Regions from separate parts of the Homo sapiens genome. Here region 1 is linked to region 2. Evidence: promoter capture Hi-C in human tissues and cell types (Jung and others, 2019). All regions are on one chromosome and are shown on one strand. The core of a region is centred on a gene start or on the middle of the fragment in contact, and the rest is flanking DNA. Distances in the headings are between cores, read along the strand shown.

Evidence for each region. Contacts are between HindIII fragments. The study calls those that stand out against the background at their distance.
Region 1: a contact is called between a fragment that was not itself captured here and the fragment with the promoter of AKR1A1 in region 2, in 1 of the 25 tissues and cell types used here (pancreas).

The regions. Positions count from the first base shown.
Region 1 is chr1:43,847,512-43,850,280 of GRCh38, forward strand. All of the region lies in intron 5 of ST3GAL3 (ST3 beta-galactoside alpha-2,3-sialyltransferase 3), which reads left to right. It also overlaps the pseudogene SHMT1P1. Among named protein-coding and RNA genes, the nearest start is that of MIR6079, 10 kb to the left of the region's middle. The HindIII fragment of the contact is 5,766 bases long and covers 1-2,769 here.
Region 2 is chr1:45,549,378-45,552,077 of GRCh38, forward strand. It overlaps AKR1A1 (aldo-keto reductase family 1 member A1), which reads left to right and starts at 1,449. Exons shown (of 9, transcript NM_153326.3): 1 at 1,449-1,778. RefSeq lists enhancers at 1,132-1,191, 1,242-1,471, 1,702-1,921. The HindIII fragment of the contact is 19,939 bases long and covers 1-2,700 here.

The DNA of each region.
Region 1 (2,769 bases), core at 236-2,735, 1.7 Mb before region 2:
TAAATGAAATGAGCCAGTTACACAAAAACAAATATTGTGTGATTCCATTCATATGAGGTGCCTAGAGAAATCAAATTCATAGAGACAGAAAGTAGAATATGGTTTCCATGTGCTGGGAGGAGGGAGGAATGGAGAGTTATTGTTTAATGCATATAGAGTTTCAGTTTTGCAAGATGAAAAACAGCTCTGGATATTGGTTACACAACAGTGTGAAAATAACTAATACTACTGAATTGTACACTTAAAAATGGTTAGGATGGTACATTTTATGTTAGTGTATTTTACTACAATTCAAACATTTTAAAAGTTTTTTTAATGAGAGGGAAAATTCTTTTATATTTACTCACAAAGTTTTCTTTACTGTTGGTCTTTCTTCCTTTGTGTAAATACGTATTTCCATATGGTATCCTCTTTCTTCTGCCTGAAGAACTTCATTTAACATTTCTTGTGGGGCAGGTCCGATGACTGCGAAGTCTTTCAGTGTTGGATTGTCTGAACAAGTCTTTATTTTACCTTCAATTTTGAAAGATTTTTAAAAATGTTTTGGCTAGGTATACACTTCTAGGTTGACAGTACCCTGTTCTCACTTCCACCACCCCTCCCCCACTACCTTAAATATGTAACTCTATTTACTTGCTTCATTCCTGACAAAACGTCTTCTGTCATTCTTACCTATATTCCTTTGTATGTAGTATTTCATTTTCTTCTGGCTGCCTGTTGAGATTTTTCTCTTTACCAGTGGTTTCCAGCAATTTTATTATGGTGTCCCTTGTTGTGGTTTTCTTTTTTTTTTTTTTTTTTTTTTGGCGTAGGGATGGAGTTTTGCTCTTGTTGCCCAGGCTGGAGTGCAATGGCGCGATCTTGGTTCACTGCAACCTCCGCCTCCTGGGTTCAAGCAATTCTCCTACCTCAGCCTCCCGAGTAGCTGGGATTACAAGCATGCGCCACCACACCTGGCTAATTTTGTATTTTTAGTAGAGACGGGGTTTCACCATGTTAGCCAGGCTGGTCTCAAACTCCTGACCTCAGGTGATCCACATGCCTCGGCCTCCCAAAGTGCTAGGATTACAGGTGTGAGCCACCGTGCCTGGCTGTGGTTTTCTTTATATTTATTTGGCTTGGAGTTTATTTAACTCCTCAGATCTGTAGGTTCATAGTTTTCTTGTTTGTTTGTTTTGTTTTATTCTTTGTAATCACATTTGGACCTTGTTTACATATTTTCTCAAATATTTTTTCTGCCTCATCTCCTTTCCCAGGATTCAAATTACATGGATGCTATATTATTTGTCCCACAGGTCACTGATGCTCTGGGTTTTTGTTTTTCAATCTTCTTTCTCTCTCTGCTTCATTTTGGATAGTTTATATTGCTATGTCTTCACATTTATAGCTTTTTCTTTTGTAGCATTTAATCACTTGTTAATCCCACCATGTATATTATTATGTCAAATACTGTGTTTTTAATCTCTGTAGGTTCCATTTAGGTCTTCTTATATCTTCTGTTTCATTTCTTATTATGTTTGTGTTTTCTTCTGCCTTCTTGAACATTTTGAGAGTTATTGGCAAATTGCCCTTCATAGCAGTTTTGGGATTTATGTACCCACATAGTAGTTGATGATGGTGCCATCCTTTGTTTTCTTCTGTTTTACAGTTTTGTTATTTATATTTAAATTATTAATTCATCTATTTTTGGTTTTGTGTGTTAGGAATGAGGTTGAGATCTAGGGTTCTTTTTTTTTTTTCATATGGGTAGCTAGTATTTCTTGGTATTTTGATCACAAAATACTTAAGTAAATTCAAGGTTTTGATTTCTGCAGCATCAATATTTTGACAGAAAAGGACTTGATAAAGCTCTTTTTGATGTGTTAATTTTGAGATGATCTACAAAAACTATTAAATCTTACCTTTTTTAACTTTTTAAGAAATTAGTTTGAGTTCAAATATTTTTGAAATATAAAAATTGTATTTTTAAAGCTATAATTCTTATAGACATTCAGTGGTTAAAAATTTGATTGTGCTTATTAAAAATGGTCGTATATGTTTTGCACTTCAGCTATGTGAAAATAAAGTTTCTTTGGGAAGGTGACATTTGGTTTCCTGATTATGGGAGGGAGTTGGTTATCTCAGGTGGAGCAGGAAAGCCTGGTTGATTCTCACACCAGTATGGGACTGGGATTTCCCAGGATGGAGGGAGGAGACCCTTTCTACACCATACTTTGAACTACTGACAGCAAAACCCTCCCACCATACTGAGTGCACCTTGTGTACACTTGGCTAATGTACACTTCTGATTTACAGCACACAGCAGAAGCTTCAGAGGCGAATTCAGCTCCCCTTTGGCATGCTGCTGGGTAACAAGATAGTAAGAGTGGCAGTGTGTACAAGCTGTGGACAGGAGCATTTCCTCTCTGCTGCAGCAAGGCAAAGGAAAGCCTAGGGAGAGTAAAACACTAGAATCTTTCTAATAGCTCTGCCCTACCCCATGGTCTAAATGATTATGGCCAAGTGGCTACACAGTATTTTTATTTTTCTAGAATAATTATATCCAGCTGTGAGAAAGCCAGGTTCAAATTAAAAACCTGTAATAACCTGTCCCAGAATTAATAACAATGAAACTTAAACAAATTTTGATTTGTGAAGAAAACATGAAAAAAGTCCAAAAGAAAACCCCTCAAAGGAAACAAGTGTCAGTGGGTCCCTTGTGGGGCAGCTTGTACATCTCTCAAGGGGATCCTCCAGCAGGTAGCTTCCTCTGTGGCACCAGGTGCATCC
Region 2 (2,700 bases), core at 199-2,698:
ATTCTCCATGTTGGTCAGGCTGGTCTCTAACTCCTGACCTCAGGTGATCCGCCTGCCTCGGCCTCCCAGAGTGCTGGAATTACAGGCGTGAGCCACCGCACCCGGCCAAGTCTGATTGTTTTTATGAGGATGGCCTGATACATTAGACATTTGGTCCACCAGGACATCACTTATGTTGGGGAGACAGTGGGGGATAACGGGGGTGGGGAAATGGGAAGAGTTGCTCTCAGGGAGTAAAGGTGTGGGGAAAAGCAGAGCCAAACCGAGATAACCCTGTGTCTTGCCCATCCCTGCCAAGGAAAACACATACATGCAAGACACCTCTCCACTCAAACAGCACAGACTATTTCAAATCGCAGATGTGTCATTTAATTAATACCTGTGTGACTTTGGGAAAATTATAAATAGCCTTAACCTTGCTGAGTCTGTCCAATCTGTAAAATGGATTATGAATACTTTCCTCACAGGCTTATGGTGTGCTGGTAATATCTTCCTCTGGATGGCAGTTACATTGCAAAAAATAATTTAAAAAAAAGAACTGTATACATTTAAGATTTATACATTTTCTTTCTTCCTGGATGTAGAATAGGAAAAAAAGAAAAAGAAAAAAAAAAAGACTGGTGTATTTTCTGTATATATGCTATACTACGATTTTTAAAAAGGCTTGTACGAAATAAAAGAATATTCCTTTTCGGCCAGGCGCAGTGGCTCACTCCTGTAATCCCAGCACTTTGGGAGTCCAGGGCGGGTGGATCACGAGGTCAGGAGTTCAAGACCAGCCTGGCCAAGATGGCGAAACCCCGTCTCTACTAAAAAATACAAAAAAATTAGCCAGGCGTGGTATCGGGCGCCTGTAATCCCAGCTACTCGGGAGGCTGAGGCAGAGAATTGCTTGAACCAGGGAGGCGGAGGTTGCAGTGAGCCAAGATCGCGCCACTGCACTCCAGCCTGGGCGAGAGCGAGATTCCGTCTCAAAAAAAAAAAAAAAAAAGGAATATTCCTTTTCCAGGATTATTATGAAGATTCAATAAAACCATGTTTATTAAGTGTTAAGCACAGTGCCTGGCACATAACGTGCTGGGCGGGGTCTATGGTCCAGACAGGGGGACCAGGCACTTTCCAGCGCCTGGATCTGCAGACGCGAGGTCTTCTGTATTCTGGCCAATCTTGGTGTTGCAGCTGCTCTCTGGGCCTCAGTTTGCTTGAACTAAATGTAACGGGGCCAACTTAGGTGAACTTTGGGAATCCAGCCAACCTGACTTTAGGGAGAGTATGGAGCCACGGATGGCATTGTGAATCCGGAGGGCCGACACCAGAAGAACCTGCAACGTGGCATCTGCTACCTTACTTCCCCCGGAAAAGCGCCTGCGGCGGCGCCTAGGCGCGCGGTGCAATGTGGGCCAGCAAAAGGCGAGGCTGGCCCCGCCCCTTGCACCGCCCACGTGGCCAGCGCCACCTGCCTCATTGTGCCCAGGAGTTCTCCAAACCCGCGCTGCGGAGTGAGTGACCAAGTTCCGGCCAGTTCGACCTCGAGGATCCAGAGGTGGAGACGGTACTACCTCCCAGCTCTGTTTTCCATCCCCTTCAGGTCCTTCCTCGGGAGGCGGCGAAGGCGGTCCACCCTGCGCGTGATCCTTTATGCCCGGCCCCTGCCCCTCCCTCCGGGTGGAACTTCCCCCTCACCGCCAGACTTAAGCTGAGGATCGTTGGATCTCTGGCGGGGTGCAGAACTGAGCCCAGGCCACAGTACCCTATTCACGCTCTGTGCTTGTGCCAAGGTGAGTTTCTCTTGCTGCTGGCCTATCTTTCTCCCGGAGGAGATGGCCTCGATTCTTTACTACTGAAATGTAAGCCCCTGGGGTTGAGTGGAGAGCGCAGAGCACTGGAGGGGACGAGACTTGGTTTCGGATTTGAGCTCTTCTTTTTCTCTGTATGATCTCTTGCTAACTTCCCAGTTTCTCTGAACCTGTTTCCTCAGCAATAAAATGAGGTCCTACATTAGAACTGTAGCAAGAATTGAGATAAAGCTTTGAAGGCGCACAGCGCATACTAGGTGATCTGCAAGTTTTAATTGCCATCTTTTTGTTTGCTCACCTATGTGCTTTTTCCAGCTGCTCCGGCTTTCTTATGCAGGTGCAGGGATAGTTCTCAGAAGTGGGGAGAAGTGGGGATAATTCTCTTACTTAGACACCTGCTTTGGGTCTGAGAAAGTCTGACATGTTATTCTGTTGCCCCAGAACTCTGTTAAAGTAAGACACAGATCTGAACCTTCACTGGATGAGGCTACTGTTAATTAACTCTTCCCCTTCAGATCGTTCATACTCAGGGCTGCAGGCCTGTTACTTTTCCAAGATCTGTTTCCTTATCTTTAATACAGGAGCAATCTCAGTATGATTCTATCTGGTCCACTGGGATTTTTTGCCGAGTATAGTAAAGTGCTTTGATATTCTCCAAGAGGATTCTTTTCAGGTTTTCCAACAGGTAAAGGAAGAAGGTGACAGAGGCAGCGACTTCCTCAAATGTCCTTCCAGCTGGCCAAACTCAACCTGTCAAGATCTCTCCCCCATAAGCTGTGTGTGTGTGGTGTGTGTATTGTGTACATTGTATGTATGTATGTATGTATGTATGTATGTATGTATGTATGGGACAGGTACTCTAGGAGTGAGGGGTTCAGGCAGATGACAGGCTCAGACCTCAAGG